Linked DNA regions of Homo sapiens: region 1 is linked to region 2. The links are contacts of gene promoters, found by promoter capture Hi-C in blood cells and fetal thymus (Javierre and others, 2016). All regions are on one chromosome and are shown on one strand. Each heading gives the region's core, a stretch centred on a gene start or on the middle of the fragment in contact. The rest is flanking DNA. Distances are from core to core; before and after follow the strand shown. Region 1 holds the start of MAP3K19 (mitogen-activated protein kinase kinase kinase 19). Region 2 overlaps R3HDM1 (R3H domain containing 1).

What was found. Contacts are between HindIII fragments. The CHiCAGO score rates a contact against its expected background, and 5 or more counts as called.
Region 1: a contact is called between the fragment with the promoter of MAP3K19 here and a fragment that was not itself captured in region 2, in 2 of 17 cell types (naive CD4 T cells and fetal thymus). The highest score is 5.6, in naive CD4 T cells.

What each region holds. Positions count from the first base shown.
Region 1 is chr2:135,045,851-135,052,476 of GRCh38, forward strand. MAP3K19 (mitogen-activated protein kinase kinase kinase 19) reads right to left here and starts at 1,597. Exons shown (of 13, transcript NM_025052.5): 1 at 1,335-1,597. RAB3GAP1 (RAB3 GTPase activating protein catalytic subunit 1) reads left to right here and starts at 6,442. Exons shown (of 24, transcript NM_012233.3): 1 at 6,442-6,475; 2 at 6,580-6,626. The coding sequence starts at 6,458. The HindIII fragment of the contact is 2,914 bases long and covers 1-2,009 here.
Region 2 is chr2:135,551,380-135,557,923 of GRCh38, forward strand. The region is part of intron 1 of R3HDM1 (R3H domain containing 1); the gene reads left to right. Among named protein-coding and RNA genes, the nearest start is that of R3HDM1, 23 kb to the left of the region's middle. The HindIII fragment of the contact is 9,576 bases long and covers 475-6,544 here.

The sequences.
Region 1 (6,626 bases), core at 347-2,846, 510 kb before region 2:
AGATGGAATGAGCACATAGCATTATCCCTATATGCAGGTCATTCTTTTAGTTAACATGCACAGACCATGGCTTTTAAAAATTATTTTTATTAGAGATGGGGTCTCACTCTCTCATCCAGGCTGGAGTACAGCAGCTTGATCATAGCTCACTGCAGCCTCAAACTCCTAGGTTTAAGGGATCCTCCCACCTCAGCCTCCCAGATAACTAGGGCTACAGGTGCACAGCACTATGCCCCGCTAGTTATTTTTATGTTTTATTTTTGTAGAGACAGAGTCTCACTATGTTGCCCAGGCTTAGTCACAAACCCACAGTGCTTTTTATTATTGAGCTCTATTTCCTCTTCCAACCTTCAATCTGTACATGTCCATTTTAGGTTTTTTTCATAAGAAAATATTTCTCAATTTTCCATTTAGAATTGTTGTTGTTATTGTTGTTGTTGTTGTTGTTACAGAGTCTCCCTCTATCGCCCAGACTGGAGTACAGTGGCACAATCTCGGTTCACTGCAACCTCCGCCTCCTAGGTTCAAACAATTCTCCTGCCTCAGCCTCCCAAGTAGCTGGGATTACAGGCACCTGCCACCTTGCCGGCTAATTTTTGTATTTTAGTAGAGACAGGGTTTCACCATGTTGGGCAGGCTGGTCTCGAACTCCTGACCTCAGGTCATCCACCCTCCTTGGCCTCCCAAAGTGCTAGGATTACGGGCATGAGCCACCATGCCCGCCCCATTTAGAACTGTTTTGGTCAATGATTTTTGAGGAATAGTGTTTCATTCCACAGAGGTTTTTAGTTTAGCATCTATTAAAACCCAGTCTTTTTTATTTTTAATTGCATGCATGGTTTATCTATTTGTAAAACCAAAACCTTTTGTTATAGTGTACATTTGATTTAGAACCTTATGCAATAAAGATTTAAAGCAACAGAAATCTCATTTCATGTTGAGAAAGCATGGTTAAGAACATATGTATACAATATTGATTGGTTACAAGAAGATTCATACCATGTAAAGTTTACACATATTTGGGTGATTAAACTAAAAGATTACCCCTAGGTATAATTCAATGAAGGCAAGTGTTTTTCATACACTTTTCTTGTCATTAGTAATTTAGCCTATGGTCTAGAGGTGCCTGCATAAGTATTGGAGGAAATCGTCACAATATTTGAAAAGTAAAAAATAGTTTATTACAACTCCAAGGATATTATTATTTGAGATTAGGACACAGTTTCTTCTATCAGTTTACCAGGCATTCCTCCTCTGGGACATCCTTTGGGGAGTAAAAAAGTTGCAACATACAGTTTATCTAAAATGAGATGAAAAGCAGAGATTCGGCTTACCTGTGCTGTGTTTTGCTGAGGGACGTGGCACACAGTTGAAGAAACACCAAGCCAAACAGTAGCCAACATCATCCTAATTCATTGTGGCACTGATTTCTGGGACAGCTGTAACCCACACTTCAACCAGGGATCCATTTAAAAACAGCATAGATTCAGATTTTTTTTTCAGTGTTGTACAGCCCAAATAATTTTTCCTTTTAAATTTTGTCTTTAATTAAGCTGGTCCTGCATGCACAAACCCTTTAGTTAGCTGCAAATAGACTGCTTAGTTTACAGGTTGTCTCCTAGGCAACCATCCACTGTGCATTTAGCTTAGAGAATTGAAAGCAGGACAGTCTCATCCAGGAAGGAAAACAAGTTTTGTATGCTCTTCCAAGTTGTTGCTTAAGTGCTTTAAAACTACCAAACCCCTATGTACTTCCATGGTTGGCACAATTACTGTGATCACCTGATGCACTGAGACTTTCTCTAAGAGATCCATGCCTTTGTAATCCCCACAAGGTGCCAGAAGGGCCCCTTTCAAAGCTGCATATAGGTCACAGAGTGAGAATCCAATCGATTACCACCAAACTGATTGCATTCTTAGACTCAGCCTTGAGAAAGCGCTAGCAGACAGAAATCCTTACATTACAACATACTTCTTCTCTAGATATGCTTGTGATATTCTGAAGCAAAAGCTTCAGTAAACAGACTGCATTTTTGTCTGAGTCCAGTGGTAATAAACCCAACTGCAAAAGACTTCAAATCATGGACTATGAAAACATAATCATGAGGAAGTGGACACAGGGCACTCCATAAGGTCACCCGGCATTTGTGTGCTGCTAAATTCTTTTCTGCCACTTACCAAAGGATGCAGGGGTTTCTCTTCTAAGGTAGGGCGTAACATTATATATTCTCAACTGAATGGGGTACGATATTCTATCGCAATAACAACAGCTGACATTTATTGACTAGTTCCTACGTTAGTCCATAAAGGACATGATTAATGTCATTTAACCCTCATAACAACTCTATGGAGTTGAAACAATAAACAGCATCATTGCCACGTTACAGAAGATGACACTGAGGCTTAGAACTTTTGAGCTAATGAATGGTGGAGCTAGGGATTGAACCTAAGCGGCCTGGCCACAATGTTGCAATACTACCTTTACCATGCGCAAGCACGTACACACACACACACACACACACACTCTCTCTCTCTCTCTCTCTCTCTCTCTCCTTTAGTGGATGAAGACTTCAGGGTAAAAACCATTCAGAGATTGTTAGATCTACGTAAACTCCCTCATTACCAATTCAACTTCAAGCTGCTTGACACCAATTTAAGCACACACAGGCTATTACTCTGTTTTGCTTCCTATGCTCTACTTTGCTTCTACTCCCATCAAGGTGAGTACTCTCTCAGCCTAACAGAGGAAGGTGCAAGTACCGTAGTTTCTGACTTTTAGGATTTCTGCCAGGTTATCCTAGGGTTCCAGCTTGTCTGCAATCCATGAATCTTTAAATTGGCTTCTCAAAAAGTAATCCTGGCCAGATGTGGTGGCTCACACCTGTAATCCTAGCACTCTGGGAGGTTGAGGTGGGTGGATCACCTTAGGTCAGGAGTTCCAGACCAGCCTGGCCAACATGGTGAAACCCCATCTCTACCAAAAATAAAAAAATTAGGCCAGGCGTGGTGGCTCACACCTGTAATCCCAGCACTTTGGGAGGCTGAGGTGGGTGGATCACGAGGTCAGGAGTTCGAGACCATCTTGGCTAACACGGTGAAACCCCGTCTCTACTGAAAATACAAAAAAAATAACCGGGTGTGGTGGCAGGCGCCTGTAGTCCCAGCTACTCGGGAGGCTGAGTCAGGATAATGGCGTGAACCTGGGAGGCGGAGCTTGCAGTGAGCCGAGATCGCACCACTGCACTCCAGCCTGGGCGACTGAGCAAGACTCCATCTCAAAAAAAAAAATTAGCCGGGTGTGGTGGCTAGTGCCTGTAATCCCAGCTACTCGGGAGGCTGAGGCAGAATTGCTTTGAACCCAGGAGGCGGAGGTTACAGTGAGTCGGGATTGTGCCACTGCACTCCAGCCTGGGTGACAGAGTGAGCAAGACTCCGTTCCCACCCCCCCCAAAAAATGTAATCTTCTGGCTATGCGCAGTGGCTCACGCCTGTAATCCCAGCACTTTGGGAGGCCAAGGTAGGAGGATTGCTTGAGCTTAGTTGTTTGAGACCAGCCTGAGCAACATAGTGAGACCATGTCTCTGCAAAAAATAGAAAAAATTGCTGGACGTGGTGGTGGGCACCTGTAGTTTCAGCTACTCAGGAGTCTGAGGCAGGAGGATTGGTTGAGTCCAAGAGTTTGAGGCTGCAGTGAGCTATGATCATGCCACTTCACTCCAGCCTGGGAAACAGAAAGACATCCTGTCTTTAAACAAAAAAGGAATCCTCCTTTTGTCTCTCATTTTGAGATAGAGTCATTCAAACCATTCTCTTTTTCAAGAAACTCAATGTTTAGAAATAGTGGAGGGATAGGCATACAAAACAAGGACAATATCAGGCTGCCCTAGGGCTGTGTCAAAAGCTCTAAGGAAGCATGGAAGGGGAGTGTCTGACTTCCTGGGTTGAGGGTGGGGGATGTATGTTTGCCTAGGGCTGCTTGAACAAAATGCCACAGACTGGAAGGCTTAAACAACAAAAATTTATTTGCTCACAGGGCTGGGCGCCGTGGTTCACACCTGTAATCCCAGCACTCTGGGAGGCCGAGGAGGGTTGATCACCTGAGGTCAGGAGTTTGAGACCAGTCTGGCCAATAAGGTGAAATGCTGTCTCTACTAAAAATACAAAAATTAGCTGGATGTGGTGGCACATGCCTGTAATCCCAGCTACTCAGAAGGCTGAGGCTGGAAAATTGCTTGAATCTGGCAGGTGAACGTTGCAGTGAGCCAAGATCTCACCACTGCATTCCAGCCTGGGTGACAGAGCAAGACTCCATCTCAAAAAAATATTTTTTTATTTGCTCACAGCTCTGAAGACTAGAAGCCCACGACCAAGGTATCAGCAGGTTGGGTTTCTCCTGAGGCCTCTCTCCTTGGTTTGCAGGTGGCCACCTACTCTCTGTGTCCCCACATGGCCTTTCCTCTGTGTGTGCACATCCCTGGTGTCCTAATCTCTTCTCATAAGGACACTAGTCAGATTGGATTAGGGCCCACTCTAGCGGCCTAATTTTAACTTAATCACCTCTTTAAACACCCTGTCCATAAATACAGTCACATTTTGAGGTACTAGGAGTTAGGGCTTCAACATATGAATTTTGAGTGAGAATCCAATCGATTACCACCAAACTGGTTGCAAATACAAATAAGCTCCTAACAGGGGGCAGAGAAAGTCTTCACAGAAGAGCAAATATCCAAGCTGAAACTTGAAGGACAAATTTTACCAGGTAAACTATAGACACAAGGACATTGCAGATTCTAAACGACAGCATGTCCAGAGGAAAGAGAAAGCACAGGATGTCGAAAACATTGTAGGTGCATGTTAAAAGAGGCTGTCTATTAAAAGAGAGTGGCAGACACAAAAGATGTGCTGCTCAGACCTCCCTTAAAGAAAGACTCACTGCCCAGCTGTAAGGCGTGTGGTTAGATGAACAGCCTACGGCTGTTGGGTTTATCAGGTTTGTCTAACTGTTGAGCCAAGGACCTGCTATTCTTGGAGTGCTTCCTCCAGCCAAAAACTGAGCAAACAGTGATAGCCAAGGCCACTGTTTTCTTGGGGAGATCCTGGCCAATGATTGACGGAGCAAGGCAGTAGTACAAGGGGCTACGCATTTCCTGATGCATAATTTTTGCCCTAGCACTTCCAGTTGGACTTCAGAGACTTCGCCAGCTTGGAATTGTAGTGTCTGCTTTTTTAGAGCACCAGTCTGAAAAAAAAATAGTGAAAAAGCAAGCTGCAGAGTGGGAGAAGGTATTTGCTACATATATAAACAATATAAAGCTCAGATGCAGAATATATATAAATAACTTGAAGGTGTTAAAATAAAGACAAGGCCAGGCACAGTGGCTCACACCTGTAATCCCAGCACTTTGGGAGGCCGAGGGGGGCGGATCACAAGGTCAGGAGATCGGGACCATCCTGGCCAACATGGTGAAACCCCATCTCTACCAAAAATACAAAAATTAGCTGGGTGTTGTGGCGCATGCCTGTAATCCCAGCTACTCGGGAGGCTGAGGCATGAGAATCACTTGAACCCAGGAGGCAGAGATTGCAGTGAGCCGAAATCGCGCCACTGCACTCCAGCCTGGCGACAGAACCGAGGTGGGCAGATCATGAGGTCAGGAGATCGAGACCATCCTGGCTAACACGATGAAACCTCATCTCTACTAAAAATACAAAAAATTAGCCGGGCGTGGTGGCGAGCGCCTGTGGTCCCGGCTACTCGGGAGGCTGAGGCAGGAGAATGGCGTGAACCCGGGAGGCGGAGCTTGCAGTGAGCCAAGATCGTGCCACTGCACTCCAGCCTGGGCGACAGAGCAAGACTCCGTCTCAAAAAAAAAAAAAAAAAAAAAAAAAAAAAAAAAAAAATGAAGCGTTTGTTGAACACCATGTTGCTCTTCCCAGAAACCAGGTAACTAGTATGATTTTATTTCAGGACAATCAACTGAGCAACTTCTTGCAGGGTCAGGGGCAGAGGGTAGAAGTGGTATTACAGCACCTAGTTTATTGCCTTACAATCAATAAATAGAGGGTGAATGAAAAGAAACCCAATAGTTAAAGTGTAAGCTAATTGGTACTAACTACAAATATGGGTTGAATGAAAACAAACCCAACATGCTTTAGGTTTTTTAATACAATCTTATCCACATGAGTTTAGGGTCTTGTCCTATCACCTTGGCTTCTGTTCCCTTTCTGTATTCATCACAGGAAATTTTCAAGTTTTATGAAACCAGCTAGAGCGGAGTTTTATTAACCAGCTGAGGGCGGACTAAAGACTTAACAGACCTGGGCGAAGAAGCAGCACTCCTACTTACTAGGGCAAGACTCATGAACAGGGGGCGGGGGCTCCGGGGGCGGGGACGCGCCCCGTTCTCTTTCGCTCTTCTTCCCGGCAGCCTTAGCGCCAGGCCCGGCGCTCCTCAAGATGGCTGCCGACAGTGAGGTGATTTCTTTGCTCCCTACTTAATCCTTGTCACTATCTAAATTCGTTCCTCATGTCTTCGCCTTGGGGCTTAATTTCTTTTTCTCTCCTTCCCCTTCCCGCAGCCCGAATCCGAGGTATTTGAGATCACGGACTTCACCACTGCCTCGGA
Region 2 (6,544 bases), core at 4,013-6,512:
ATTCGGGACCATTTAGCACAGAATAAATTGTCCATGTACCTAGTAGAATGAAAAACTGCCAAGGTTATTCTATTGCACTCTGGTATTTTGTTTTTAAAACAATAATGAAAAAAAAACAGTGCAACAGTCATCTAGAAAATATACTTATTCTTTGACTATGCCAAGTAATTAAGATATTACGAAATAATTGAGTGTACATTAAAAGTTAAATCACGTTGAATTGCATAGGAACACTGATAGTTATTTCAAACTCACATTAGTGAAGTAGTATATAATTTATAGTTTTGTCGTTTTACATTGTGGGGTATTAGGAGAATCTTTTCAAATGGAATTCCTAGAGTGATTGCTGTTTGAGATCGGGGGGTGTATCTTTCTGGTTTCTTTCTAGTTCTATAGCTTTTTAAATTTTTTGAGTGAAATGTCAAAAATTATTGTAAACTGATTTGAGAGTTGTTTTCATTATCTGATTCATTAAGCTTCAGATTTTAACTCAGTATTACCTTGAAGGCAAATGTTTATTTTAATATGAAAATGATAGTTCATTTGTTGATGCTAGTATTTATGACTGTATCATAAATTAACATGAGCTGCTTAGAGTCTAATTGCAAAATTGAAAAGTTAGCATAAATTATCCATCATATAAATGAAAAATAATTTCAGTTTATTTAGTAAAGAAGTTTTTGTGTCTAATGTGCAAGGGATTTTGCTTTCAGCATTGTAAGATTTAATAGTAAAATATATGCTGTAATAATTATGAAAGCATACCTACATCTCTTTTAACTTATGGCATGACCTAATCCAGAATTTTTTTTTCTTTTTTGGGGGGTGCGGGGAGGGACAGGGTCTTGCTCTCTCACCCAGGCTGGAGTGCAATGGCATGATCTTGGCTCATTGCAACCTCTGCCTCCCGAGTTCAAGCAATTCTCCCCCCTCAGCCTCCCAAATAGCTGGGATTATAGGCACACACCACCACACCTGGCTCATTTTTGTCTTTTTAGTAGAGACGGGGTTTCGCCATGTTGGACAGGCTGGTCTCGAACTCCTGACCTCAAGTGATCCACCCGCCTCAGCCTCCCAAAGTGCTGAGATTACAGGCATGAGCCACCACACGCGGCCTAATCCAGAATTTAAATTCTTCACAGTATAGACTAAGTCAACAACCAGTGATAGCTTCACAATTTCTAATGAGTGACTTGAGAGTGACAATCTGATAGTTGACCCTAGGTACTTTTTTCACAGCAAAAATACTATATTTATTTAGATTGTATATTAATTAAGGGAGGCTTTAGAGGAAGTTGATAGAGATATTGGTTCTTAAAAAGCCCAGGTCATCATTGGCACTCCAGTTTAAGTTAGCTTTCTTCACTGTAATGACTTGAAAAAGTAGAGTTGTTAGAAATTTGTAATTTCTTACTCATTGTGCAAACCAGGACATATTTTTAAATGAAGTAAATTTTGTGAAGTGGAACAGTTTGATAGGTAGTTTGTTGTTAACATTGCTTTTTTTTTTCCTCAGAGACAGGCCCTCACTCTGTTGCCCAGGCTGAAGAGTGCAGTGGCATGATCATAGCTCACTGCAGCCTCACCCTCTTGGGCTCAAGCGATCCACCTACCTCAGCCTCCTTAATAGCCGGGACCACAGACATGTGCCACCGCATCCAGTTAATTTTTGTAGAGACAGGGTCTCACTGTGTTGCCCAGGGTGGTCCTGAGCTCCTTAACTCAACTGATCTACCTGCCTTGGCCTCCCAAAGCACTGGGATTACAGGCATGAGGCACCGTGCCTGGCTCTAACATTGCTTGGCATCCATTCTATGAATAGATTTCTTGGCTATCTAGATTATGTTTGCTTAGATATTTGAAAGAGTCTTTCTGAACTAAAGTTCAGGCAAATGGGAGGAAATTCAGTATTTCATACTGAAATGAAGTACAACCCTCTGTTCCTTTTTTATAAAGTGGCATTTGTGCTTTTTAGGATCACAATATGTTGTGGCAAAAGGCAAACAGCAGTGATTTGTACAAAATTTCAGCAGATCCAGATTAGCAATAATAATGTTTCCAAGTCATCACCATGGAAAGAGGAGTAGGAAGGAATTGAGATGTGTAGCAGTTGCAGAAATCAGGGATTCAGGAGCATCAAAATATTTGAATGTCGGTCAAGCTGATGCCCGATCAAGCACTGTTATAAGAAGGTTTCAAAATGTGATGTTTTTACAAGTTTGTATATAACCTGACTTATATGAATCATGTTGAAAGTGGCCGATGTTAATATTCTGCTATTCTGCTGAGGTTTTTGTATGTGTTTTTTGTTTGTTTGTTTGTTTGTTTTTGAGACGGAGTCTCACTCTGTCGCCCAGGCTGGAGTGCAGTGGAGCCATCTCAGCTCACTGCAACCTCTGCCTCCCGGGTCAAGCTATTCTCCTGCCTCAGCCTCCCAAGTAGCTGGGATTACAGGCGTGAGCCACCACACCCGGCTAATTTTGTATTTTTAGTAGAGACAGGGTTTCGCCATGTTGGCAAGGCTGGTCTCGAACTTCTGACCTCAGCTGATCCGCCCACCTTGCCTTCTCAAAGTGCTGGGATTACAGGCATGAGCCACGACGCTCAGCCTCTGCTGGTTTTTTAAACAAGTTTATTGAGATATAATTCGTGTACTGTAAAATTAACCCTATTAAAGTGTACAGTTCATTCAGTTTTTATATATTCACAAAGTTATGCAACTATCACCATATCTAATTATAGAACATTTTCATCTCTCCAAAAAGAAACCCCATACCCATTAGCAGTCCCTTCCACATTCTCCCTCTTCCCCAGTCCTCAGCAACCACTACTTTTCTGTCTCTATAGATTTGCCTATTCTGGACATTTCATATATGTGTAATCATATAGTATGTGGTCTTTTGCAACTGGATGCTTTATTTAGCATAATGTTTTTGGGGTTCATCCATGTTGTAGCATGAATCAGTACTTCATTCCTTTTCATTTCTGAATAATATGCGTTTGAATGGATATATGACGTTTTATTCATCAGTTGGTGGATATTTGGGTTGTTTCTGTTTTTTGGTTATTGTGAGCATCACTCTGTAAACATTCTTGGACAAGTTTTTATGTAGATGTATGTTTTCATATCTCTTGGTTATATGTCTAGGAGCAGAATTGCTGGGTCATATTGGTAACTATGTTTAACCTTTTGAGAAACTGCCAAACAGTTTTCTAAGGTGGCTATACCATTTTGCATTCTCATCAAGCTGTGGATTAGGGGTGGGCCCCTATTTCAATATATTAATAACTGGTGTCTATAAAAAGGGGAAATTTGGAGACCGTTATTCATACAGGAAAAATGCCACATGAACATGAAAATGGCCATTTACAAGCCAAGGATAGAGGCCTGGAACAGATCCTACTTGACCATTTTAAGGAACCAACCCTGCCAACACCTTGATTTTACCCTCAGAACTGTGCAAAGTTAAATTTTTGTTGTTTAAGCTACCCAGTTTGTCATACTTTGTCACAGAAGCCCTCGCAAACTACTACATAAGTGGTCCATGTCCATTCTGTCCTAGCAAATAGGCAAACTTCTTTTGTTTTGATGACACACACTCCTGCTGTGACATACAGTAGTAAACTTAAAAGTAAAATAAGTCGGGCGTGGTGGTTCACGTCTGTAATCCCAGCACTTTGGGAGGCCAAGGTGGGCGGATCACGAGGTCAAGAGATGGAGACTTTCCTGGCCAACATGGTGAAACTCTGTCTCTACTAAAAATACAAAAATTAGCCAGGCATGGTGGTGCGTGCCTGTAGTCCTAGCTACTCGGGAGGCTGAGGCAGAATTGCTTGAACCCAGGAGGTGGAGATTGTAGTGAGCCGAGATCGAGCCACTGCACTCCAGCCTGGTGACAGAGCAAGACTCTTGTCTCAAAAAAAAAAAAAAAAAGTAAAATAGATGTCATCTGTCCTGACGGAAATACAAATCAAAGCCATAGTGAGATACCTTTGTGTCTATAATTACAAAAATCAGATAATAACAACAGTTGAAAAGGATGTAGACAAATTGGAATCCTCATATACTGCCAGTAGGAGTGTAAAGGGTGTGGTCATTTTGGTGAGTCTGGAAGTTCCTCAATTTGTTAAACACTTAAATAAGTAAACATGAGTTACCCTGTGACCCAGGAATTCCACTCCTAGGTATATAACCAAGGGAAATGAAAATATGACCAAACAAAACTGTACACCAACGTTTATAGCAGCACTATTTATCGTAGTGAAAAAGTAGAAACAACCCAAATGTCCGTCAACTGATGAATGGATAAGCAAAATGTAATATCCATGCAGTAGAACATTGTATGACAATACGAAGCAATGAAGGGCCAGGCGAGTGGCTCATATCTGTAATCCTAGCACTTTGAGATGCCAAGGCGGGAGGATCCCTTGTGTCCAGGAATTTGAGATCAGCTGGGGCAACATAATTTCTACAGAAATTAAAAAAATTAGCTGGGCATGGTGGCATACATTTGTGGTCCCAGCTACGTGGGAAGCTGAGGCAGGAAGATCACTTTAGCCCAGGAGGTTGAGGCTGCAGTGAGCCATGATCTTGCCACTGTACTCCAACCTGTGCAGTGGAACAAGACCCTGTCCCAAGTGGGGGGATGGGGGGAGGGAAGGGAAGGAATGAAGTGTTGACACATGTTCCAATGTGAATGAACCTTGAAAACATGCTAAGTAAAAGAAGACAGTTACAAAGGACCATGTACTGTATGATTCCAGGCATACAAAATGTCCAGAATAGGCAAATCTATAGAGACACAAAGTAAATTAGTGGTTGCCTTGGGCTGGGAGAATGGAGGGGATTAGCAGGTGATGACTAAGAGCAGTGGGGTTGTTTTTTGTGGTAATAAAAATGTTCTAAAATTGATTGTAGTGAGGGTCACACTACTCCGAATATACAAAAGCCATTTAATGGCTTTTATACCATTCGGTAGTAATATGCCATTGTATGGTATGTGAATAATATCTCAGTAGAGTGGTTTTTTGAAAACACTAGAACATATATGATCAAAAAATGAAAAAATCAACTAGACCTGGTAATCTGTGTTTAAGAGTAGCAGTTGATTGATCATTTATTATGCATGTGCTATGTCAGACTTTTTTTTTTTTTTTGAGATGGAGTCTCGCTCTGTCCCCCAGGCTGGAGTGCAGTGGCGCAATCTTGGCTCACTACAAGCCCTGACTCCCGGGTTCACGCCATTCTCCTGCCTCAGCCTCACGAGTAGCTGGGACTACAAGCACCCACCACCACACCCGGCTAATTTTTTGTATTTTTAGTAGAGACAGGGTTTCACCGTGTTAGCCAGGATGGTCTCAATCTCCTGACCTCTTGATCTGCCCGCCTCGGCCTCCCAAAGTGCTGGGATTACAGGCATGAGCCACCGGGCCTAGCCCAAAACTGTCATTTTGAAGCAACACTTACTAGAATTCATATAGAAAAAAAAAACTATTAAAATTCCTCTGCTTAGATTCTCTAGGTCTTACAACTTTATCAGCTACCTGTTTACCTAGATCATATTGCTCTAGCATCCTTTTTTTTTAAACCCAAAGAATTCTTCACTGATCTTGCTTATTTTAGAAATATTTTTAGCTTTACTTGTAAGAAAGGTACTGCTCTTTAAAGATTGAAGAGCATAAGATGAAGACTGAAATGTGGGATCTTACTGCCTTTTTTCTTTCTTAATCAGTGACTTTTAAACCTCTATGAAGATCCAGATCTAGAATTCTAGGACAAGTGCCCTTGTGGTTCTACTTACTCTACGGTGGTAATTAGCAATTTAGTAACCTTAAGGAAGTATTTTGTTGTTAGTTTATTGCTCTTTTTTTCCTCTACTAATTTTACTTTTTTTTTCCTTTTTACTGTCCATATTTAACGTAAGTATATCCTTTGTATCTTTTTCTTCCCATACTATAACAAGGGTCTTGAAACTCTTTATCTCTGATTATTCTACTCCTGCACTTTAAATTGTAAGTGATACAAATCCAAAGCATACAAACTCAACAAAACAGGAGTCAGAGAATTTACTAAACTCATCGAATGCCAGGTCCAGAAGTTAAGAGGCAGCCAGGTTCAGGTCTCAGATGGTGTAATCCGAGTCTTATTTCTTCTCCACAGGTATTCTGTAGACAGCTTCTTTCATGTTGCCAGGAAAAATTGGTTACTATAAATCCTGACTTACTTGGTCCTTATGGCTCTTGATCCCGATAGCAGTGAGCCAGTGGCAAGGATGATCATATGGCATATTCTGAATGACCCAGCTTAAGTCACATGTTCAACATTGAACTGTGGCCAGGGACTGGAGTATAGTTCATGTCTAGGTCATGTTCTCACTCCTGGGGCTGGAAGTGGAACTTAACTGCCAGGCAAGGCTGCTGACATTGAGTGATATTATTACCAGGAGAGGTGGAGGAACAAGGTATTCAAGAGACAAAAATAATAGAGGCTAGTAAGTGTAGTTAGTATACATTGAACAAAAAACATGGGCCCATGTACAAAGGA